4 separate regions of the Homo sapiens genome follow, and regions 1, 2 and 4 are each linked to region 3. Evidence: promoter capture Hi-C in 16 types of primary human blood cells and fetal thymus (Javierre and others, 2016). All regions are on one chromosome and are shown on one strand. The core of a region is centred on a gene start or on the middle of the fragment in contact, and the rest is flanking DNA. Distances in the headings are between cores, read along the strand shown.

The links. Contacts are between HindIII fragments. The CHiCAGO score rates a contact against its expected background, and 5 or more counts as called.
Region 1: a contact is called between a fragment that was not itself captured here and the fragment with the promoter of FCHSD2 in region 3, in 5 of 17 cell types (total B cells, M2 macrophages, naive B cells and 2 more). The highest score is 6.0, in total B cells.
Region 2: a contact is called between a fragment that was not itself captured here and the fragment with the promoter of FCHSD2 in region 3, in 1 of 17 cell types (neutrophils). The highest score is 6.2, in neutrophils.
Region 4: a fragment that was not itself captured here is called in contact with the fragment with the promoter of FCHSD2 in region 3 in 1 of 17 cell types (neutrophils); the score reaches 9.5 in neutrophils.

What each region holds. Positions count from the first base shown.
Region 1 is chr11:72,867,120-72,874,132 of GRCh38, reverse strand. FCHSD2 (FCH and double SH3 domains 2) reads left to right here. Exons shown (of 20, transcript NM_014824.3): 13 at 6,107-6,268. It also overlaps the pseudogene RNU6-672P. Among named protein-coding and RNA genes, the nearest start is that of ATG16L2, 56 kb to the right of the region's middle. The HindIII fragment of the contact is 722 bases long and covers 2,815-3,536 here.
Region 2 is chr11:72,689,528-72,693,783 of GRCh38, reverse strand. ARAP1 (ArfGAP with RhoGAP domain, ankyrin repeat and PH domain 1) reads left to right here. Exons shown (of 35, transcript NM_001040118.3): 28 at 1-92; 29 at 314-459; 30 at 999-1,031. Among named protein-coding and RNA genes, the nearest start is that of ARAP1-AS2, 8.8 kb to the left of the region's middle. The HindIII fragment of the contact is 2,865 bases long and covers 1-2,682 here.
Region 3 is chr11:73,140,946-73,147,238 of GRCh38, reverse strand. It overlaps FCHSD2 (FCH and double SH3 domains 2), which reads left to right and starts at 4,921. Exons shown (of 20, transcript NM_014824.3): 1 at 4,921-5,382. The coding sequence starts at 5,362. RefSeq lists enhancers at 3,773-3,912, 3,993-4,102, 5,973-6,202, 5,702-6,293 and silencers at 4,333-4,712, 4,873-5,252, 5,653-5,792. The HindIII fragment of the contact is 9,673 bases long and covers 1-6,293 here.
Region 4 is chr11:72,758,904-72,765,876 of GRCh38, reverse strand. STARD10 (StAR related lipid transfer domain containing 10) reads left to right here. Exons shown (of 7, transcript NM_006645.3): 3 at 6,496-6,643. Among named protein-coding and RNA genes, the nearest start is that of ARAP1, 10 kb to the right of the region's middle. RefSeq lists an enhancer at 2,815-3,024. The HindIII fragment of the contact is 5,833 bases long and covers 1,967-6,973 here.

The DNA of each region.
Region 1 (7,013 bases), core at 1,926-4,425, 270 kb after region 3:
CTGTTAAAAGATAAACTTAGGCACATTAAATTTTTTTTTATTTGAGAAAATAGTGATAATTACTTGGGCAGCACCAGATCATATGCAGTTCAGGGTTCCACCAATGGAACACCAGAGGAATGCTTTTATAGGGTGAACTCAGAAGCAAAACAAAGCAAATATTTGATTGGTTAAAGTGGCACGGTAGTATCCTTTTTTGGATCATTCCAGTGGAAGGTTTCTAGTTAGAAGGTAGTTGGCAGTTTTTGATTGGTTAAGCTTCAGTTTTGTTTTACCATTTATACTGAGTTGAGTTTTGGTTTGCTTACGTAGGAACCCGGGATGCTGGAGCTGCCTCAGTTTAATGACCTTCCAGTTAATTATCTTAACAACCCCACTTTACATCATATATACAAACTAACTCAAAATGAATACCTAAATGTAACAGCGAAAGCTAATAAACTTACAAAAAAAACCACAGGGGTAAGTCTTTGTGGCCTTGGATTAGTTTCTTAGATATAACACCAAAGCCTAAGCAGCAAAAGAAAAACTAGATAAATTAGACATCATCAAAATTTAAAACTTTCATGTTTCAAATGACACTATCAAGAAAATGAAAGACAGCCCACAGAATGGGGGAAAATATTTGCAAATCATGTATCTGATAGAAACTTACTTCTAGAATATATTAAAACTCATAATAATAAAAAGGCAAAAATACTCAACTTAAAAATGGGAAAAGGGTCTGAATAGACATTTCTCCAAAGAAGATGTATGAATGACCCATAAATAAGCACATGAAAAGATTCATTTTTTTTTTTTTTTGAAACAGAGTCTCACACCATTGCCTGGGCTGGAGTGCAGTGGCGCGATCTCGGTTCACTGCAGCCTCCACCTCCCAGGTTCAAGCGATTCTCCTGCCTCAGCCTCCTGAGTAGCTGGGATTACAGGCACCCGCCACCGTGTCCGGCTAATTTTTTGTATTTTTAGTAGAGATGGGGTTTCACTGTGTTGGCCAGGCTGGTCTCAAACTCCTGACCTGGTGATCTGCCCGCCTCAGCCTCCCGAAGTGCTGGGATTATAGGCATGAGCCACCGTGCCTGGCCTAAGATTTGTAACATTAATAGTTATCCAGGAAAATGCAAACAACAGTAAGATACCACTTTATATCCACTAGCATGGCTAGAGTCAAAAGACAGACATTAACAAGCATTTGCCAGGATGTGGAGAAACCCTCATCACCCTACTGGTGGGATCAAATGATAAAGCCACGTTGAAAAACAGTCTAGTATTTCCCCAGATGGTTAAACTTAGCATTACTTCATGATCCAGCAATGCCAGCCCTACATATAAACCCAAAAGAAGTGAAAACATGTCCACACTAAAATTTATACACACACGTTTATAGCAATATTATTCATAATAGCCAAGAAATAGAAACAACCTAAATGACTCCCAACTGACAAATGGATAAACATTCTAATGTATATCCATACAATAGAATGTTATTTGGCCATTAAAAAAATGAAATACTGATACATGTTACAACATAGATGAATCTTGAAAATATTATGCAAAGTGAGAGAAGTTAGTCATAAAAGACCATGTATTATATTGTTTCATATGTGTTAAATGTCTGGAATAGGCAAATCTTTATAGACAGAAAGTAGAATAGTGATTGTCAAGACTGCAGGGAATAGGGGGCTGGAGAACAATAGGTAAATGGTACATGGTTTCTTTTGGAGGTGATAAAATATTCTAAATTTGACTGTGGTGATGGTTGCATGTACTATGAATATACTGTAAGCCACTGAATTTCAGACTTGAAATGAGTGAATTGTGTGGTTCTAAAAAAAAAAAAAAAAAAGAAAAGAAAAAAAAAGTTGTGTGCCAAAAGGTCTTTGTCACCTGAGCTATATGTCAATAAAGTTTTACCAAAAAAAGAAATTATGAAAAGAATAAGCAGATTTTTGCAAGAGTATTTACCAATTGGAGTGCCTCTAAGCCAAAAATTCCAATTGTCTTATATAAAGACGTATATGATACCCCAAACCATTGTATTGTATACTTTAAAATGGTGCAGATAGTAAATTTTATGTAATGTTTTACCTCAATTTTTATAAAAATCTATTTGCTTAAAAACGTTAATATAAAAAAAATTAATTCAGCAAAGAAAGCCCAGTGATACAAGTCAGAACATAAATTGTTTTTGATATCAACTCCCCAAGCAGAGAATTCGGAGGGAAATCAAAATTATGTACCTGTTGGGCACAGCAGTTCACACCTGTAATCCCAACACTTTTGCAGGCCAAGATAGGAGGATTGCTTGAGCTCAGGAGTTCAAGAGCAGCCTGGGCAAAAGAGCAACCACTCTGGCTCTAAAAAAAAAAAAAAAAAAAATTATGTACCAAAGGTATTTGTCACTGGAGTGCAGTGGCTATCTATTCACAGGCATGATCATAGCTCACTGCAGCCTCAAACTCCTGGACTCAAGTGAGCCTGCCTCCTCAGTCTCCTGAGTAGCTTGGACTCCAGGTACAAGCCACTGCACCAGCTCCAACTTGTTTGTCCAAGAGTCCCACAGAAAGCCACCAAGTGAGAGTGGAACTTTACTTAGGTTAAGTAAGTGGAACCTTACTTAACCTAAAATTAGCTTAGTGGAACCTTAAATGTTAAGGAAGAGATCACCACTTGCATATGTGAAACAATGAAGCTGAATGCATTACTTGCTAAGCAAAAGAGGCTGAATGTTTTACTTGCTAAGCAAAAGAGAATGACACAAAACACATTGACTCTGAACAAAGCAAGAGTTGATATATAGGGTTTTGAGAAGCTTGAATGTCAGGGATTGGCAGATTTTCAAAACTAGGAATGTTTAAGGGGTTGGCTCACTTTCAGCCTTGGTTTTTAGAGTTTGGAGGACTAGTAGAAGCAGAAGCTGTCACAGATTAGCTGACTTTCAGAGGCATGGCTGTTGGAGCAAAGCAGCAGTTACTTTCTGATCGGGAGGGGTTTAAAACTAGTTCTGTGGTTACTTGTTTATGGTTTATGGAACAAGGGCTAAAGAATAAGCAGTTATTCCCTTTCTTGAATTTGGAGAATAGGAACTTTTTATTCTCAATCTCTGCTATTTCTGCCAGCCACATCATAAATGTAGTTTAAAAGCAAAGACATTACTGTTAGTCAACAAACAAGTTAGTCAATAAAGGCAGCCAAGTCAAAGGGGGAATTCTTTTTTTTTTTTTTTTTTTTTTGAGACGGAGTCTCGCACTGTCACCCAGGCTGTAGTGCAGTGGCGCAATCTCGGCTCACTGAAAGCTCCGCCTCCTGGGTTCACGCCATTCTCCTGCCTCAGCCTCCCGAGTAGCTGGGACTACAGGCACCCGCCACCACGCCCAGCTAATTTTTTGTATTTTTAGTAGAGACAGGGTTTCACTGTGTTAACCAGGATGGTATCGATCTCCTGACCTCGTGATCTGCCCCCCTCGGCTTCCCAAAGTGCTGGGATTACAGGCGTGAGCCACCGCACCTGGCCCAAAGGGGGAATTCTTTAAGCTTGTGCTGAAGAATGTTAGAATTGTTAGAGAGAAGTTCTTTTATATTAAAAATTATTATTATTAAAGAGACACAGTAGTTTATAACTCAATATCATTGAATGGCAGTCTTTCAAGATTGGTAGAGCCAATCTTGAAAGAATTGGTAGAGCCTATTCAGTCTTTTCTTGGAAAAGTAGAAGCACAGTTATATAGGATATTTATTCAAAAAAGGTTACTGAACACATAACAGGAGAATAACGCTGAATGTCAATGCTCGAGTCTTAAAGGAGCCCCCAATTATATCAAACAGGCATACTTAGTTAAATAGCTAAGTATAATTTCGTGCCTATCACATTGTAATTAGATCTATATAGAGTGCTTTAGGAGCAGAGAAAAAGGAATTATTAACTGCCTAAGGAAGGTTGAGAAATACTTAGAAAAATCTTTGTGGAAAGGGTAATATTTGAACGGACCGTCAAAAGATAAGCACTCACCAGGCATCAAAAAGCAATGAGAAGGCCTTTACAGAGGGACTGGCACGCACACAGGCACGCAAGCACATGATGGATCAGAGGAACAGCAAGTGGGACAGTGGGGTGGGAGCATAGGGGGGTGTGGAAAGAAACAGTAGAAGGAAATAACTCAGCCAAACTGTGAAAGATATTTTTTATTCCTAGTTAAGAATTAGTTAATTCTTTACTCAGTAGACAGTCAGGAGTTATGAAAGTTTTTAAACTGGGGAGCAACATGATGAGGTCATTCACAGACTGTAAAAGATGGATTACAGAGGAGAAAAAGTCCAGGAAATGGGTTAGAAGGCTACTGAAAATGCTGGATTTCAGGGTGTTCTGAGGCATAGCATTATGAACAGGAAAAGGAAACAGACTTTATCACTCTTGATCTCTTCCTCTTCACAAGTTATATTTGATCTATCATCAATACCATGCCCTTGTCAAAATGCAAGTATGTGCTCACTTCAGCATCACATATACTAAAATTGAAATGATGCAGAGAAGATTAGCATGGCCCCTATGCAAGGATGACACACAAATTCGTGAAGCATTCCATACTTTTATTAAAAAAAAAAAAAAGCAAGTATTCCATTGTTAGGAGACCCTGATTCCTTTCTTTTGTTCATGTTCTCTGTCTCTCTGCCTCTGTCTCTCTCTCTCTCTTCTTCCCTCCCCCCAACCCTCTCTTTCCCTTCTTCACTATCTCCCCTCCCTTTCCCCTTCTCTTGCCCTGCTTCAAGTGAAAAATTAGCATCTGTGCCAGGGAAGAATTGCTAGTGAATATCAAGATTGTTGTAATTAATCGATTAGGAAGAACTTAATTAATTTGAGGGAAAAAAGCCTTGATTTCCTTTTTTTGATAGGGATATAAACAAGAAGTTTATAATAAATGGTAACTTGGCTGGGTGAGGTGGCTCATGCCTGTAATCCCAGCACTTTGGGAGGCTGAAGCAGGTGGATCACCTGAGGTCAGGAGTTCGACACCAGCCTGGCCAACTTGGCAAAACCCCGCCTCTACTAAAAATACAAAAATTAGCCGGGTGTGGTGGTACACACCTGTAATCCCAGCTACTTGGGAGGCTGAGGCAGGAGAATTGCTTGAACCCAGGAGGTGAAGGTTGCAGTGAGCCAAGATCATACCACTGCACTCCAGCCTGGGTGACAGAGTGAGACTCCATCTCAAAAAAATAAAAAATTTAAAAAAAAAAGGTAACTTAAAAAGTAAAAGCTAAGCTGCATTGCCACCAAGAATACAGTTGTGCAAAAATATGTCTGCATGTGGACAAAGCCTTGAGAATATTTGCCATGTAAGACTGATAGGATCATGTATGATTTTTTTTCCTTTTAAGTAATTTCCTTTCATGACGGTTATATAGTTTCTTGGTTTGTTTGTTTGTTTGTTTGTTTGTTTGTTTTTAACAGAGTCTTGCTCTGTCACCCAGGCGGGAGTGTAGTGGTGCGATCTCCCCTCACTGCAACTTCCCCTTCCTGGGTTCAAGTGATCCTCCCACCTTAGGCTCCCAAGTAGCTGGGACTACAGGCCCATGATACCATGCCTAGCTAATTTTTTTTTCAACTTTTAAGTTCCCGGATACGTGTGCAGGATGTGCGGGTTTGTTATTAGGGTGGTGCAAAAGTAATCCTGGTATGTGTGCCATGGTGGTTTGCTGCACAGATCAACCCATCACCTAGCTATTAAGCCCAGCTCCATTAGCTATTCTTTTTAATGCTCTCCTTCCCCACCCATCGCCCTCTGACAGGCCCCAGTGTGTGTTGTTCTCCCCCACTCATGTGTCCGTATGTTCTCATTGTTCAGCTCCCACTTACAAGTGAGAACATGGAGTGTTTGGTTTTCTGTTCCTGCCTTAGTTTGCTGAGGATAATGGCTTGCAGCTGCATTCATGTCCCTGCAAAGGATATGATCTCTGTCCTTTTTATGGCTGCATAGTATTCCATGGTGTATATGTACCACATTTTCTTTATCCAGTCGATCATTGATGGGCATTTGGGTTGATTCCTTATCTTTGCTATTGTGAATAATAAAAGCCTTGATTTCCGACCATTTTCTTGGTTCTCTAGATAATTAAATTGAAAGCTGAAGCCCGGTTGGACCTGCTAAAGCAGATTGGTGTTTCTGTGGACACATGGCTAAAGAGTGCCATGAACCAAGTAATGGAAGAACTGGAAAATGAGCGATGGGCCCGCCCTCCTGCAGTGACCAGTAATGGCACTTTACACTCGGTACGATTTCTTTTCTTGGATATGACAAGTTGATTTTCACTGAAGCATGCTTTGACTCTGTAGTCAAACTTAATAATAGCCAAAATTTTTTAAAAAGATAATAGTTTGCTAGTGATTTAGGTTTTATTCTTCAGCCTATCACTAATTGATTTAAAATTATTGCGGGAAGTGAAAGAGAGGAAAAAATGAGTGTTTTTTTTAATGTATGATGAAGAATATGTTATCACTATTTGGGTTATCGATGCCTATCTACCAAACTCATCCCATTCATAGAGTAAATATGCTTCGTGTCTGGAAGTAATAGAATAGAAAACAATCTAGTGTCTCTGAAGTTCTCAGAGGTCTTCTTTAGTGAAAATGAAAATAAACATCCAGAGATTTGCACAAAATCTTAAGTGAAAGGAATGTTCTTCTTAGTACGTGGGCTTAGTCTGAAGGTGACTTCAATTCTTGACAGCTTTCATATTCTCCTCACATAGAGAGAGTGTAGGTGAGTTTTACAGACAAGGCCAGGACACAGCTTAAGTCTCCTTACTTCAAGTCCAGGGCTTTTTCTACTCTGATGTCATCTGGTTCAACCTTAGTTTTTCATGTTGGAGATCTAAGTACCAGAAAAATTCGGTTGATTTGCCTGATATTACATAGCTGGATATGTGATGCCTTGCTAGTCAGACTAATGTAATTCCTACTGTCACCTCCCCACCCATTACTCTCTGTCATCCTGTTTATTTCCTCAATGGTATTT
Region 2 (4,256 bases), core at 1-2,500, 450 kb after region 3:
GAAGGTGCTGCCCATCCTGCACGGGCTGGGCACGGACAGCCACCTGGTGGTGAAGAAGCACCAGGCCATGGAGGCCATGCTGCTGTACCTGGGTAGGTGGTGCCTGCAGGGTGGCCAGGCTCCGGGTGGTCCTCTCTTCCAGAGCCAGGGTGGGACCTGGTGGTGCCAGGTAGGAACAGCTCAGACAGAGGGCGCCAAGTGGGTGGGCCTCTATGGAGAGGCTGGGGCAGGATGGGGCAGCTTCCTTCATCCTGGGACCCAGCCCCGGGTAGGGGTTGGTGCAGCCTGTGCCCACTCCAGTCCCACCCCCCAGCCAGCCGTGTCGGTGACACCAAGCATGGCATGATGAAGTTCCGTGAGGACCGCAGCCTCCTGGGCCTGGGCCTGCCCTCAGGTGGCTTCCACGATCGCTACTTCATCCTCAACAGCAGCTGCTTGCGGCTCTACAAGGAGGTCCGGGTAAGTGGCCCCGCTGGGTTCTGCCCCAGGGTGGGCACCTGTACACCTGAATGTGCTCAGAGATTCCCCTTGGTCTGCAAGTGGAAATATTCCCGTTACAGGCTCTCAGGATGGCACAGCAGTGGGGGAGAACTGTAGACTCTCAAGACCCCTCCTGCTGTGGCCCTGGACGGCCACTCTAGTGTGCCCTGTAGCCCCACTAAGCCCTGGCACCCGGATGCCATCACACCACTCCATGCCCATGCTCTGTCTCACTGTGCCTGTGCCTTATCACTGCATCCACAGGAACCTGTTACTTGATGACAGCCCCAAGTTGTGCATGCATGCCTTGTCATATCGTATGTCATATGCCTCCCGGGCCACCCTTCTCCCTCATTCTGTCCACATGCAGGTGTTCTCCCAACCCAGACTCCATTTGACACCCTCCACCTTCTGCACATACATGCCATACACACACCCCAACCCCACACATCACTGCACATGCTGTCCTGGCTCTAGACCTGGGACTTCTTCCATAACCCTGATCCTCTATCAAACAGAGCCAGAGGCCGTGGAGCGGGGCCCCTGAGACCGTGAGTAGCTGTGGGCTGACTGCCAGCTGCCTTACACCACCTGGGGGCCAAATGAGCTGGGTGGGAGCATGGGGAGACAGCCAGGGCTCCTGGCCATCTCCAGGCATGGATCCCTGCCCCCTTGCCCGTTGGCACTGGCCCCTATCCTGGGGCCTAAGCTCCTCCCCTTTATCCCTAATCCTGTCCCAGGGTCCTTTCCCCAATATAGGGTTCCTTATCAGTGCAATGCTCTAGAATTTTCCAAAGGACTTAGTGTAGAAGTTAAAGAGCCAGTAATGATGGCACCTAGGTTTGAATTAGAGCCCTGATCTTCATCTCCTGTCATCCCTGGAGCCACCTTATTTCCAACCCTGGACAGTGTTCCAGGACTGTCAGAATGTTCTTGCTACTGCCCTGATCCTAACATGCCGGGGTGGGACGAGAGAGGCTTGTGGGATACCCCCACCTGGGGTAGCAGTCTCTCTGAGGCTTCCTGGCTGGCTATTTCCACTCTGCACACTCCTAGGAGAGAGAGCTCATCCCTCCGCCCTTGGGGCTGCCCTGTTCCTAGGGGGATACTTCTGTCTGGAAAAGGTCCTTGCTCAGGTTCTGCTGAGAATCTGCATCTCATGATGCCCCCATGGGTCCCAGCTATGCCTTGGGGGCTACAGAGCATAGATGCCCTGCAGCAGGGGTCCCCAACTGTTGGGAACAGGGCCGTGCAACAGGAGGTGAACATCGGGCGAGTGAGCATTACTGCCTGAGCTCTGCCTCCTGTTAGGTCAGCAGCGGCGTTAGATTCTCGTAAGAGTGCGAACCCTACTGTGAACTGTGCAAGCGAGGGATCTAGGTTGTGCGCTTCTTATGAGAATCTGATGTCTGAACATCTGAGGTTTTACAGTTTTATCCCGAAACCATCCCCCCACCCATGGAAAAATTGTTGTCCACAGAACTGGTCCCTGGTACCAAAAAGACTGGGGACTGCTGCCCTGCAGGATGGGCAACAGAGACATGGTTCCAAGCCTGGTGGTCTAGCCTGAGCTCCCACAGCTACCCACCACCCCATCCCCAGTGTCTTCAGCCTCTTCCTGCCCCTTGCATTTCCTGAGGTCATCTGAACAGGCTTGGCTGCCATGGCAGGAGCAGAGCAGATAGAGCAGGACCTCATCTCCTTCTCTTTGCATTTTGTGCCTCCTCTAATGCATCCTGGGCTCCTGCTAACCCTGTGGGAAACACCGTCTCTTCTCTCCTTTGCCCTCTTCTGTGATCACATCCTCACTTCTGAGCCTATCTGCCCATCCAGTCAATCCCCCTTGGTTCTGGGATGCTATTTCCCTGGCCGCCTCCCTCTAGGAGTGTTTAGAACCCTCACTGTGGGCAGAAGGGAGGGAAGATGGCTGAGGTACCTGGAAAGGGACGTGTGGATCCCTGGGCATGGAAGGAAGGAGGCAGGAGAGCTAGAAAAAGGGATGAGATCTAATGTTCCCTAAGGAACCTGGCTTAGTGCTGGCCCTTCACATACTGAGACATGGAATCCTTACTACTGTTCTCTGAGGAAGAGGGCTGTCCCCACTTCCAGGTGAGAAAACAGGCTTTGTGTGACTTGCCCAAGGCCATCTATAAGTGTAGACTGGGACTTGCACCCAGGTTTCTTAGTGTGGAAACGCAAGCTTGTATTCCTGGAAGTCTCAGACTTGAGGACTCAGCAGGGAGGGGTGCTCAGCACAGGGTAGGTGGTGCTCTTCACACCCCAGAGACAGCCAACACCTCTGGCCTGGCAGAGGCCCTGAGCAGATGTGAGCTGGTTACCACGGGGTTATCAACTCTGGCATTTGTTGGTTTATGCGGCAGTAGGACAGAATATTTGAAATTGGGACAATCTCAGGTGATTCAGTAGGATATATGTCCACTTGTGCCTTATCCTGGGGGTCTCCTCTTGTTAAAGACCCTGAGGCACCTGGAAAAGGCACATGCTAGAAAGATCTTGGTTCCAGCAGAGATCCTTAAGCATCAAGAGTAAACGTCATTGTCTGCCCATGGCCCCATGCCTTGGAGATGCTGGAAACATGAGCCGTCTGATTAGAAATGTCCTTGGGCCAGGTGCAGTGGCTCATGCCTGTAATCCCAGCACTTTGAGAGGTCAAGGTGGGAGGATGGCTTGAGTCCAGGAGTTTGAGACCAGCCTGGGCAACATGGTGAAACCCTGTCTCTATAAAAATTAGCCGGATGTGATGGTGCATGCTTGTAGTCCCAGCTACTCAGGAGGCTGAAGTGGGAGGATGGCTTGATCCCATGAGTTGGGGTTGCAGTGAGCTGAGATTGCACCACTACACTCCAGCTTGGGGGATTCATTCTCAAAAGGAGATTGCATTGACTGACATCCTTCCCTCCCAAGACCCACTTCTGCAGACTTTCTGACTCAGCCACCCTTACATCACACACATGTCATGCACATCAGACCCCAAGGAATCGGAGGCCTGAGGGTTGTGTTTTCATTCTTGGAGCCACAGCCTGGTTTGAATGTCTTGATTCCTGCAGTTGCCTCTGCGCCTGACTGGGCCTGTCCCGTCCACCCTCAACTCACTTGACTGCTTGCTTCTAGTTCTGTTCCCCTCCCACCCACAGCCTGACTTCTTCCAAACCCACAGCCTGTTTTCCATCCCCTCAGCCGATTCCTCCTGTACCTGGAGTCCAGTTTCCCCCACATCCTTCCTCATACCCAGAACCTTGTGTTTTCCATGCCTGCAGCCGAATCTCTTTTATAGCCTCTGTCTCAGTCTTTCCATTTCTGCCATCAGCTGTCTTCCAGTTTGCAGGCCGATTGCTCTAGTGCTCCCAGCCTTGCTTCTTCTGTGTGTGCCTACAGGTTTCTTCCTTATATTCCCCCACATCTTGTTTCTTCCATGTCCGAAGCCTGATTTCCTCCCGCCTGCCTAATTTCCTCCCTGTCTGCAGCCCTGATTGTTCCATGCCTGCAGCCCAGTTGGTTCCAGGCCCTCCTGGGCACATGGCCATCATCAGGTTAGGTGCTGTCTGTAGAAGACATGAGGCTTTCCAATCAGCAGGTATCGGGGTAAAAGCAGAGTGAAAAGTCCTTACTAAGGCCCTCCTAAGCCACACCCCCTGTGAGAGCACAGAGGTCTTCTCCAGTCCCTAAGCAGCCCATCCTTTTGTGATATCACAGGAAGTCCACCAGTTCCCAAAACTTCCCCTTCCCCTGGCTGTCCTTTCTCTGGCCCCTGCTGA
Region 3 (6,293 bases), core at 3,672-6,171:
GATGTAGAAACCAAGGTTGAGAGGACAGTGATGCGCTAGAGGTCACACTCAGTGAGTACCTGGCAGAGATAGAATTAGCACCGTGGTTTCCTGCCTTGTAATGTTAAAACCATGTGCCTATCAGCTCCTACCATAGCCCTGGGACTGACTGCTCATTTACCGTACACCCCCACCCCTGCCACCCAAAGTTGTAATATTCCCTGGTAGGGGCAACACTTGACAAGATAATTCCTGGTCCCAGTGCCTGCTTCTTAGGGACTTGCCTCTGGCCTTAGATCTCTGCTACCACCTGGTAGGATCTGGGTCCCTATGACCCTCCTGGCCCTGCATGTTTCACTGCTGTGACCTTGGTCTCTGTATTGAGATTGGGAGCTCCTGGTGGGCAGCTCCTCACCTCAGAGACCTGCTTATGACTAAGCCCAGGATAAGGGCTTGTTGAGTGATACTATGGAATTCAAGGCCTAGTGCCTTGAACAAACTCACTATGTGTCTTAAGGAGAGCCCCTGCTCTCTTCTGGTGGCCACCAATCTTGAAGTCTCATTTACCTGTGCTGGGATTCTGTCCTGAGAGCTGATAGTGGAAGAGACTGGCACACTCTCACATCAGGCTGGCAGGAGGCTGGTGTTGAGGGAATTAGCTCAGGGAGCAAAGGCATGGGTAGGGAAAGGTGACTAGGGGTAGGAAGGAGATGAATGGGGATGGGGTCCATAGACCACACTGTCTGCCGCAGCATCCCCAGCTGGACTTGGTGGGGCCCAGGCAGGGAATAGCTGGCATCCAGACGTGCTAACAAGTATTCCTGAGCAGTCTGTGTCAATGCAGGTGGGGGATAATGACACAGAGGAAGACAGAGTAGAGAGAGCTGATGGACCCCAACTGCAGGAACGGTCAGGGATGCTTTGGTGCAGTGTGGGCAGGGGGACTGGCAGCTACTTTCTCTGAAGAGAGCCTTTGACGAAGTCAAACTGTCCTAGGTGCGTGCTCTGGATGGGGAGTAGTGTGCTACTCATGTTCTGGCCATGCTAAAGGGCCGCTGTATACTTTGTCTCCCTGCCAGTTTTCCCAGGAGCCCTGGAATATCAGAACAGCTGATCTTCTGATACCCATTCATATACCTGCTCCAGGCCAGTTTTTGATCCTAGCTCTGACTTAACCTTAGAATCATATTCCTAATGAAATGGGAGACTGCACTGCAGCATGCTGGAGGGAGAGCACAGCTTCAGAGCCAGGGGCCAGCCCTCCCTTTCCTTCACTAGCTGTGTGACCTTGGGTAGGTCATTTCACTTCTGAGCTGCAGCCTGTGCAATGGGGTTATATGTATTATGAGGAGTTGTTGTGAATGTTGGAAACAATGTAAATAACACGCCTATTTTAATGTCTGGAACATGGAAGAGGCAAAATAAATGGCAGCTGTTATTAATTTCTTTTCAGAGTGAGATCCCATCTGTGGTCTCCTTGATGGAAGGGAGCCAGAACCTGTTTGCACAGCCCCAGGGACAGGGAGCTCACTCCTTCCAGGGGTAGCTCTGCCTGGAAAAGTTCCTTCCTGAGATGCAGCTAACACCTGTCCCAGTTTTGTCTCTGGGGCCATAGTGCCTGCTGCTCTGCACCATTTCCCCAAAGAATCTCAAGCAATGCTACTGGCAACACAGCGCTTGCCTGCATTGCAGGAGCAAGGCTCTGGAAGTCCCCAACCCTGTTCAAAATGGTACATTTCAAGTCAGGCTTACATAAGTCACAGAAATCCCTTCCCTGGTCCCCTAGAGTCTGGAACATAATGGATTGTATCCTCCTGGGTCTGCTTATTTTCCTGCGTTAGGAACTCTCCCAATTCCTTTGAACATTCTTCATACACGAACATTCCTCATCGGACAACTGGGTTATGGTCTGAAGTCTATCATGTCAGGGCAAGTCACTTATCCCCACTGAGCCTCCAGTTCTCCATCAGTAAAAATGAAGAAACGAATACTATCTCATGGGTAAAGATTAGCTTGGAAAAGTAATATGAAAGTTTAGGGTTTGGAAGAGACACTTGGTAAGTATTAAAACAATTTTTTTAAATCACAGTTTTGAAATAGGAGTTAGTAGGTAAGCCCATCTGGTATTGCCCTTAGCTCTTTATAACACTTCCAAAGGAAATCATTCCAGAAAGTCAGTGCCACTCCTGGCTTCAGAACGGTGGCAAATCAGGTAGAGGATGCCCTCCTATATGCATAAACGAAATCCCCAGGGTCTGACTTCTTCTGTGAAGAGCCTCCTAAGTTCTAGGCTCACTCACTTATCTTATTCTGCAGGCCAGCACCAAGGCCCAGAGAAGACCCACTAGATCCATGGTAGAGGCTGGATCCCATGTCTCCCAACATCCAGCACCATTATACCCCAGTGCTCACTTCCTAAGAAGAGAGGTGAAGGGAGGATAATCTCTGGGCCAGACCAGTTGCACCCAAGACTAGGATTCAGCAAATCTTTGTTAAGCACTTGTTATGTGCATGACACTGCATCCGGGCCAAGTACTGTGTTACTCCTCTTCCACTAGCCCAGTGTCATTCAAGGAATGGTTGGTCTGGAACTCAGTCTTGGCGAAGGCTGATTCTATCTTGCTCATCTCTAGAACCCCAGTGCCTGGCACAGGCTTGGAACAAAGCAGGACTTTAGCAAGTATTTTTTGAATGAATGATGAATCAATAAGCACTTATTTTATTTTTTATTTTTTATTTTTTTTTGAGACGGAGTTTCGTTCTGTCCCCCAGGCTGGAGTGCAGTGGTGCCATCTCTGCTCACTGCAAGCTCCACCTCCCGGGTTCACGCTATTCTCCTGCCTCAGCCTCCTGAGTAGCTGGGACTACAGGCACCCGCCATCACGTCTGGCTAATTTTTTGTATTTTTAGTAGAGACGGGGTTTCACCGTGTTAGCCAGGATGGCCTCGATCTCTTGACCTTGTGATCTGGCCACCTCGGCCTCCCAAAGTGCTGGGATTACAGGCGTGAGCCACCGCGCCTGGCCTCAATAAGCACTTATTAAGCACTACATGCCAGGCCCTGTGGTAGGAGAAATTCTATTTAATACAGTAAGCCTATGAGGCTAGCATTATACCTCCATTTTACAAGTGAGGAAACAAGGCTGAAATAAGTGAATTGACTAGCTCAACGCTTCACAATAAATTGGTGGTGGAGCTGAGACTGGAGCCCAGCCTACGCTACCTATGGCCTGGGCTCTAGCTGCCACCCCGCAGCTGTCAGGGCCCTGGGCCTCCATCCACCTGTCCCCTTGCCCCAGGCCTTCCCTGATTTGATTAAGGATTCTGGTGAAGGGCTAACTTTTGAAGCCAGAAAAAGCAAGACTAGTCTCCTAGTTCATACACAGCTCTAGATTAATCTTATTCAAAACACAGCTCTGTCACTTTTCTGTACAAGAATCTAGTCTAACTCAATGTAAACAACCTGGGTTGAAGTTCCACCTTTTCAATTTCTGGTCATGTGGTCATCTGGGAAGTTACTCGTCTATCCAGGCCTCATTCACCTTCCTCTTAGGCCTGACTGCACTTCTGAGAACAGCTGTCTGGGATCTCAACTTCTGAAAAAACGGTGGAGTAATCCAGCTCAGCCTCCACACAGCCCCGTGACTCAAAAAAAAAAAAAAAACCTCCCTGGGCATGGGGAAGAGGTATTCCTCTTCTGAGGACCCCAAGGGAGGTCGATAAACTCCCCCGTAGATGGTCTGAACAGAGCAGGAAGGTTCATGTGTGGTGGTGGGGTGCACTGCTTAGATAAGCACCCTCACTGGCAGATAAGGAAGCCGAGCTCACCTAGCCTGTTAAGGAGCAGGCAAAGTGGACTGGCACCCAGAGATCCTGACTCCCAGACAAGGGCTTCCTCTATGGCCTCTCCTGCCTCTTCTACTTTTCCTCGTGCTTATTATCCTGCACCTGTTTCTTTTTTAAAATAACCCATAGAACACTTCCTGACGCAGATTCTAGTCCTGCTGTGTAACCTTTAGAAAGGCTTCCCTCTATGGGCACTTGCCTCCCCGTCTGTGAAACGGGGGCCTCGGCCTTAACGTTCTCTTGGCTCCCTCTCAGCGGAGTCAGTGATGTTTGACTTGAATGCCCTGCAGTAGAGTGCCGCCGTTTCCTTTGCAGAGCAACTGCCTTTCCGCCCTACAATCGCAATGGCCTGGCACCTGCGGCCAGCCGCAAAGCGACTTGTCCTTGCTCGCCTCTCTCGCGCACATCTAGCTGGTAGGGAGAGTAGGGTGTTGAGGGGCTGAGAGGAAGAAAACGCCGGAATTCTCGTATCCCACAGGCATGCTGCGCCCCCCTCCCCACTGCAAACGTTTCCCTGCGAGCGTCGTCCCCCGCGCCCCCCGACACACACACACACACACACACACACACACACACACACACACACACACACACACACACACGCAAAGGCAGGCAGGAGGCGGGGGCGGCCTGTGCGCGTGCGTCGGCGCGGAGCCCTCTCCCGCCCACGTGCGCGCCCCCGAGCGGAGACGCGCGCGCCGGGGCGAGCTGGCGGGAAAGCGCGCGGGAAGCCCCCGGCTGGCTCCCAGCGTGGGGGAGGGAGGGCAGGAGGCGTCTGGAACGTGCCACTCTCGGAGAGAAAGGGGGGATTTTCGCGTGGCGCTGGCGTTTCTACACCTCCCACCCACCGACCAATCCGTTAGCTTCCCCCTTCCCCTGCCGCGGTACGAAGCCCCGTGCCGTGGCCTAGCTCCCTCCTGGCAGCCCGGACCGGCCCCTCGAACCCCGCTCTGGACAGAGCGGTTCCCTCAGCATCCGGAGCGGGGCGCTGCGCCGCGCGGCGAGGCCGGAAATTCCCGCGGCCTGAGTGGTGGAGCCCTAGCGGGGAGAGCGGCGCCACCTTCCTCCTCCCGGGCGGGCGGGGGCGTTAGGCCCAGCGAGGGCCGGGCCGCCTGAGTGGGTGGGGTGGGGGCCGCTGCGTCCGCCGGGAGCGGCGGCGCAGGCGGCCGACCGGGAGCGCGGACAACGCGGCTGCGGCTAACCCGCCGCCCGGCCGGCTGAGACCCTCGCGCCCCTGCTCCTGGGGCCCCCGCCCCCTCGCCGTCTCCGCCTCCTTCCTCACACACCCCCGGGCCGCCCGGGCCGCCCGGGCCCCAAGCCTTCCCGGTGCTCCTCCCTCGTCTCCTCACACTCGCTCTCTGGCTGGGGTCCGCCTGCCGCCCGCTGGCCTGCTCCCTCCGGGGCAAGTCTTGCTTCTTAAGCGCTCCTTTCACACACGCGCGCGCTCGCTGGGCCGTCCCCTCCTCTCCGGCCCTCCTCCTCCTCCTGGTCCTTGCTAACGCTGCCGTCGGGGAGGATTGATGTCCCTTCAGCATCATGCAGCCGCCGCCGAGGAAGGTAAGGGCGCAGCTGGGGGGCTTTGGGGTTCGGAGAGATGCGTACGCGGAACGCGGCTGGGGCGACCGCTGCGCCCCTTCCCCCTCCCGCAAGGGGCCGTGACCGCCCTCGTCTTGGGCTTGTCACCGACTTGCCGCCGGCTCCAGGTGGGGGGCGCGCGTGTGAGTTGCCTTTCCGACAGAGGGGCCGCCGGGGCTCGTCCGTCCTCTAACGCAGGAGACCCCCAGACATTTCACAAGAGTTTCGGGTGTGCATTTGTGTGTGTGCGCGCGCATGGCAATGCTGCCCGCTGCAAAGTGCATTCTCGGGGCTGCACCGAGGGGGAGGCGGGGACGCCCCTGCAGCTTTGCAGAGCCTTGTGCGTGTGTGATTGTTTAGTCTGCACCAGCTTTGAGCCCTCCAGCCGCTTGTCGCCAGCCCCGCCCGTTTGCAAATTTGCGGGGGATTTGTTTCTAGCCTAGCCTTAGGGTTTGGCCTGCTTTTCCCACGGGGCGGCCGAAAAGAAGTTGGAATAGTCACCGCCTCCCCACCCCAAGGGAAAACAAATTAAGGATTGACGGGTCCTGCCTCGTCCCCGGCTGAGGGGCGAGGAGGCTGTCGTGCTGTCTTCAGAAAAGCGAGGACCGGGCCCGGGAGGTGCGTGGGGTGTGCACTGCGATCCGGGGTTGGATGACCAGGGTGGGAGTGACGGATGCACCCGGCTTGTCATCAGTCTCCCCGCTGCGCCCTTCCCCAGCTTTCCCAGGGGCCGAGGCTGTGTCCTTGTCTTTTTAATCCTACAGATGGATACTGAATGTCTACTCTGGGCACTGGGTGGATGAGGCCGTTCTGTCCTCCCCTCGTGGGCAAACATTTGCCTAACGCCTAACTCACCCGTGTCTGCTGCCGCTGCTTTCTCTCTTTCCTAATCC
Region 4 (6,973 bases), core at 3,634-6,133, 380 kb after region 3:
TCCGAGTAGCTGGGATTACAGGTGTGCGCCACGACACCCAGCTAATTTTTTTTTTTTTTTGTATTTTTAGTAGAGACAGGTTTTCACCATGTTGGTCAGGCTGGTCTCGAACTCCTGACCTCAAATGATCCACCCGCCTCGGCCTCCCGAAGTGCTGGGATTACAGGTGAGAGCCACTGTGCCCGGCCTATTTTTGAGTATTTACTACGCGCTAGGCATATTACATGCGTTATCTCATTTAATCACAACATCCCCATGAGATAGCTGCTATTATTATTTCCATTTTTCACATGAGGAAATGAAGACTCCTAAGCATTAACTCTTGTGCCCAGGAGACAGAGCTGGGATTGAGCCTGGGATTGCCAGCCTCAAAGCCTGTGTGGGTCTTTCCTGCGCCTTGCTTGTTCAGTCCCTTCTGATTGTGGCTTCATGGGAATTGGGGAGCTGTGGAGTGCAGTGCTGGTCCCAGGGGTTCTCGGGAATCCCGGTTTTTCACCTTGAGAACTTGAGGGGGTTTGGAGAGTGGAGTGCCTGGGACACAGCCTGTAGTTTCTCTGGTGTCACTTGCTCCCCCTGGCCTCAGTTTTCTTTTTCTTTTCTTTTTGTTTTTGAGACAGAGTTTTGCTGTTGTTGCCTGGGCTGGAGTGCAATGGCACAATCTTGGTTCACTGCAACCTCCGCCTCTCGGGTTCAAGCGATTCTCCTGCCTCAGCCTCCTGAGTAGCTGGGATTACAGGCATGTGCCACCACCCCGGCTAATTTTGTATTTTTAGTAGAGATGGGGTTTCTTCATGTTAGTCAGGCTGGTCTTGAACTCCCAACCTCAGGTGATCTGCCCGCCTCGGCCTCCCGAAGTGCTAGGATTACAGGAGTGAGCCACCGCACCTGGCTGGCCTGTTTTCTCAAATGTAATACCACTGCATGTCGGGGTCCCTGCTGTCACCAGGCTTTAAACGTACTCAAGCCCAGCATGGCTCCTTGGTGGAGCAACACCCCTTGGGTTCCTGTTTCCAGGGGGAGTTTCTCCGGGGGCAGCCAAGATGGCCTACCAGGCAACACCTGACGGCAACATCTGGTGTGGACACTCACTCAGCCAGGGCCTAATAGCTGGGGGTTCCTGGTACCGGCCCGCCCACCTGGTGCTCTCCAGAGACTCAGCCCTACCCCGCCACCTGTCCCTCCCCAAGCCTCTTAGAATTACACCTTTGGGGCGTGGCCACCGCCGCCCGCAGGAACAAAGATGGGTGTAATTTCTTCTGCTTAGCGCAGCAGTGCTGCCTGCTGGGGGCTATGGAAAGGGCACGAGCCAGGCCAGGCTAGGGAGGCCTGTGGACACTTACCTGACCCCCACGACCCGGCCTGCCTCAGTTTCTTCACCTGCGCTGCCACAGCAAAGGTTCTTACTCTCTGGGCAGAGGCCTTCCTCCACAAGAGTCTGCCACTAGCCTGGGAAACCTTTGAAGTTTCTCTTTATGAGATAAAGTGCTACTCAGAGTTTACGCTGAGCAACTGGTCTGTCTCGTGGCTCTGCATGCTCCGGCCACTGTCCTCTGTCCCAGAGGTGGGTCTTTGGCCTCTGGAGCCTCAACAGCCCTGCTCTGGGAGCCTCTGGAAGGAGGATGGGGCAGCATGGGCCCCTTCCCAGTGTGCATTCAGCTGCTTTGCAGCTGGGCCCTGGGAGCACTGAGCCTGGCTAGGGAAGAGGCAGTCCCAGGTTGGATTCTAACCTGGGAAGCAGGGTTTTGTTGTCACTGCCCCTCCATCCACTCATGGTCCAGGATAACATGTTTGAAGATTTGCAGAGCCAACTAGCATCCAAATTTGGATTTAGAGAAATTCTGGTTTCCTCAGAAGCCACGCTTGAGTGCTCTTTGATGGTTAAGAACACAGGGAGATCCGATTTTGAGTCCCTGCTCTGCTGCTTTCAGGCCCTATGATCTGGGCAAGTTGCTGAATCCCCCAAGCTTCAGTTTTCTATTTTTCAGTGCAGGAATAATAACAGCGACCACCAGCTAGGTTTAGGGTGAAGAATGAGTGCGTGTTGAACATTTGGGGCAGTGCCTGGACCTCCCTGTGGCCGCTTAGGAGGCTGTTTGGATGCTAACGATGATGCCAGATCCGGCCTCTGTCTTCTTCAACCCCCTTTCTCACCATCGCGTTCCTCCCTTCACTTTGTTCCTTCATTCATTCACTCAGTCACTCACATCTCATTAGTCTCCTCAGTCTAATGTAGTTCTCTCTGTGACTGTCATGATCCTGACACTTATAGGCCAATTATTTTATAAAATGAGACAAGCCCTCATTCTGGGTTTGTCTGAGGTTCCCTTGTGATTCTATTTATGTTATGTCTCTGTGGCAGAGGTAGCACAGAAGTGATACCTGTATTCCTCTCACTGTGTCCTACCAGGCAACACCTGACAGCAACTTGTCCTGTGATTAATGAGATTCCCTTTGATCACTTGATTAAGGTGCTATTTGCCAGGCTTCTCTACTATGAAGTGACTAATTTTCCCTTTGTAATTAATAAGTATTTTGATGGGAAGTTACTTTAAAACTATGTAAATCCCCCATTCCTCATCAAACATTCCATTTACTTGTTTATTCATACCTGTATAGACTTTGGTTTCCTATTTTATTCGATGGAATATCTACAGTTATGGTCATTATTGAGTTTAATATGCAGCTTATCTCAGATTGAGCCCATGGTAGAGTGATCAACTGTCCTAGCTTGCCTGGGACTGGGGGATTTCCCAGGATGTGAGACTTGCAGTGGTAAAACTGGGGAAGTCCTCGGTAAACCTTGAAGAGTTGGCCACTGTGCCAGGGGAAGAGCCCTTCAAGCTGGTTCCGGTGTCCAAAATCTCTATCATTCTTTGAGTATTTGCTTACTTCCTGGCACAAGAAGATGTTCCATGCTCATCTTATACTTTCTCTGACCCAGCCCTGGAATCACCCATTTTTCCAAGAAGACCTAGAACCAGGGACCTTTTGAGTAGCAGGCTATACCACACCACGGAGACTGAGCCAGATGGAACTCATTCACTGCCCACAGGCCACACTCTTGCCTGCCTCTGCACCTTGGCTGGCTGTTCTTTCTGCCAGGGGCACTTGGCAAACCCCTACCTCCTGCACTGAGATTCTCCATGAAGCCTGATCCCCCGACCCAGCCCATGGAGCTGATTTCCTTCTTATGCCCCCAATGAGCACTTTAGGACATCTCCCCATTTCCAAGGTGGGCTCCTCCTTTCACTGCAGACCTCTCAAAGACAGGCCTCGAATTCATCTCTGACTCTTCTGGGCTCAGTACAGGGCTGGAGCTGGGGGCTGCTGATTAAATGGTTGGATCTAGTTATGCCCCATTATAGAGCAGAAAGGTAAATGGGGTAGAAAGGGAGGGTGAATTGTTTAGGGTGACACAAACAATATTGCAGTCTCGAGTCTGTCCTTGAACCTTGTTTTTCTTAATCCTATAATGGGGCCAATATCCCAGAGCGCTGCTGTAAGAATAAAATAATGTGTATAAAGCACTTAGTGTAATACCTGGCACATGGTGGGTGCACCTGTCAGTATTGCTGGGGGACCTTTCCAAATTGTTTTCATTATTTCAGAATTAGTACTATACATGTTAGATAATAAGAAATATAGACAAGTGGCCGGGCACAGTGGCTCACACCTGTAATCCAAGCACTTTGGGAGGCCGAGGCGGGAGGATCACCTGAGGTCAGGAGTTTGAGACCAGCCTGGCCAACATGGTGAAACCCCGTCTCTATTAAAAATACAAAAATTAGCCAGGCATGATGGTGGGTGCCTATAATCCCAGCTACTCAGGAGGCTGAGGCAGAAGAATCACTTGAACCCGGGAGGCGTAGGTTGCGGTGAGCCAAGATCGTGTCATTGCACTCCAGCCTAGGCAACAAAAGCGAAACTCCATCTCAAAAAAAAAAAAAAAAAAAAAAAAAGAAAAGAAAAGAAAAAGAAATACAGACAAGCAAAATGAAACCATCACATTCCTATCTATCATTTAGAGATCTCCACTGTTAACACCTTAGCAATTGTGCTTCCTGAGCTTCCTCTATGCGTATATTTTTTTTCCCCCAATTGAGGTTATGCTGCTTTTTTTTTGTTTGTTTTTTAAGATGGAGTCTTGCTCTGTCACCCAGGCTGGAGCACACAGCATGATCTCGGCTCACGGAAACCTCCACCTCCCAGATTCAGGCGATTCTCCTGCCTCAGCTTCCTGAGTAGCTGGGATTACAGTTATGTGCCACTACGCCCAGATAATTTTTGTATTTTTGGTAGAGATGGTTGGCCAGGCTGGTCTCGAACTCCTGACCCCAAGTGATCTGCCCGTCTCAGCCTCCAAAAGTGCTGGGATGACAGGTATGAGCCACCGCGCCCAACCTATTTTGTAACCTTTTTTTAGGCAGCAGTTTCCACCATTTTGTTTCTGTAAATTTTCAGTGCATTTGATACTCTGATCATGTTCACTTTTCTCCAGTTGTCCCAAAAATCCCCTTTATAGATGGTGTGTCCAAATCAGTTTGCAATGCAGAGACACACTTTACATGTGGTTGTTATGTCCTGCCAGTCAGTCCCACCCAGCCCCTTTGTTTACGTTGACCAGTAGAAGAGCCTGGGCCAGGAGTCCCGTGGAATGATTCACTGTCTGGCTCTGTCTGGTTGCATTCTCATGTGGTGTCACTTAGCTCATTCCTCTGTCCTCTGTATTTTCTGTAAACTGAAGTTATATCCAAGGCGTGATGGGTTTCTTGGTGCCTAGAATAGCTAGCAGGTGTCGGTGTGTCCTTCCTGCGGCATCCCACCACCATTAGTGGGGCCAAGGCCTATTCTGGGATGAGGGGGAAGACAGTGTGACCTCTCCCTCATATGGTTGCTTATCTCCTCTTGTGAGTGGAAAAGTATTATGTGAGGGTTCCCTTGGCACTGTCTAAATGCCAGTTCTGGGAGATCTTTTTAAACTACACAAGAAAACTTGTCCATTTGCTGAGAGGAACTTGATCTTGGGGATAGGGCACTTGGGTAAAAAAAAAAAAAAATCACAGAACAAGGATATTGAGTTTCATCTCACTGAGTGCAAACCTAGGGAAACCTCGTTCTGATTTTACTTGCTTTCCAGACATGTGATCTGGGTTAAATCCTGGCTCTGCTACTTACCAGCTGAGTGACATTGGGCGAGTTACTTAACCTCTTTGAGCCTCAAGTTCCTCCTTGGATTTCTTATCTGACAGAGTTGTTGGTGAGGGGGTTAAATAAAACAAGGTGTCCTTGGCCGTCTTCTACCCAGATGGAAAGCTCTTTGAGGGCAAGGCTAATACACAGTAAGAAATCCAGGCTGGGCGCGGCGGCTTATGCCTGTAATCCCAGCACTTTTGGAGGCAGAGGCAGGTGGATCACAAGGTCAGGAGTTAGAGACCAGCCTGGCCAACATGGTGAAACCCCGTCTCTACTAAAAATACAAAAAATTAGCCGGGAGTGGTGGCAGGTGCCTGTAATCCCATCTACTCAGGAGGCTGAGGCAGGAGAATCCTTTGAAACCGGAAGGCAGAGCTTGCAGTGAGCCGAGATCACGCCACTGTACTCCAGCCTGGGCAACAAGAGCAAAACTCCGTCTCAATAAATGAATGAATGAATGAATGAAAAAAAGAAAGAAATCCAGGCCGGGTGTGGTGGCTGACACCTGTAATCCCAGCACTTTGGGAGGCCGAGGTGGGTGGATCACAAGGTCAAGAGATTGAGACCATTCTGGTCAACATGGTGAAACCCCATCTCTACTAAAAATACAAAAATTAGCTGGGCACGTGCCTGTAATCCCAGCTATTCTGGAGGCTGAGGTAGGAGAATCACTTGAACCCGGGAGGCAGAGGTTGCAGTGAGCCAAGATCGCGCCACTGCACTCCAGCCTGGGTGACAAGAGCGAAACTCCATCTCAAAAAAAGAAAAAAAAAATCCAAAGATGTTTGTTGAAGGAAAAACAAACAAACAAACCACAAATAAGAGGACAGGTGGTATGGCCGCGTGATAAGTACCAGGGAGGAAATAAATCATCCACTTTGGCATTCGACTTTCATTTATGCTTTCATTTCATTTAACATGTAGCTATTCCAGGCTCCAGGCTGAAGCAACCATGAGCCTCTGCCCACGAGGAGCTCACAGGGGTCTGGGAGGGCACAGACATAGAGATGCATTGTGTGGGAGCCCAGAAGGTCTGGCTGGGAAGGCTTCCTGGAGGAGGAGACTGGGCTGAGTCGGGGGAGATGGTCTCTGGATACAGAGGCTGTCTGTCTCCTGGCACAGGTGGCTTTTTGGGGAGCTGGACAGGGCTTGTGGCAAGAAGGAAGTCCATGCTGGTTTCAGAGGCCCCTGTTCTTTGCTGTCCTCTTTCTCTTCCTCCCCCTCTGCCTGTCTGCCTTCTGGTCCCCTGGCCAAGGCTCTGAGCCCCATATGATCCTGACAACCCATATATCTTGTCTGCAGTGCCGGATGGAGTGCTGTGATGTGCCAGCCGAGACACTCTACGACGTCCTACACGACATTGAGTACCGCAAGAAATGGGACAGCAACGTCATTGAGACTTTTGACATCGCCCGCTTGACAGTCAACGCTGACGTGGGCTATTACTCCTGTGAGCAGGCGTAGCACGCTGATCCCAGTCCCCTTGGCCTCCATCCAGGCCTCCCACCAAGCCTCCTCTTCCCCCCTCCCTCCTGTGGTTACTCACATGACCAAGCTGCTCGGAGACTTGAGTGCTGAGAGATAGAGCTGCCCTCCCTGTCCACTCCTAGACCCTTAGGCACACACCCATACACTTACAAATACATATGCACTCACATGTTCACGTATATACATACACACATAGGCATACACTCAATCAGGCACACAGCCCCCACCCACATGCCACATAGTCCCAGGCACACATTTTCATGCACACTCATACTGTTTTTCTCTTGTACAC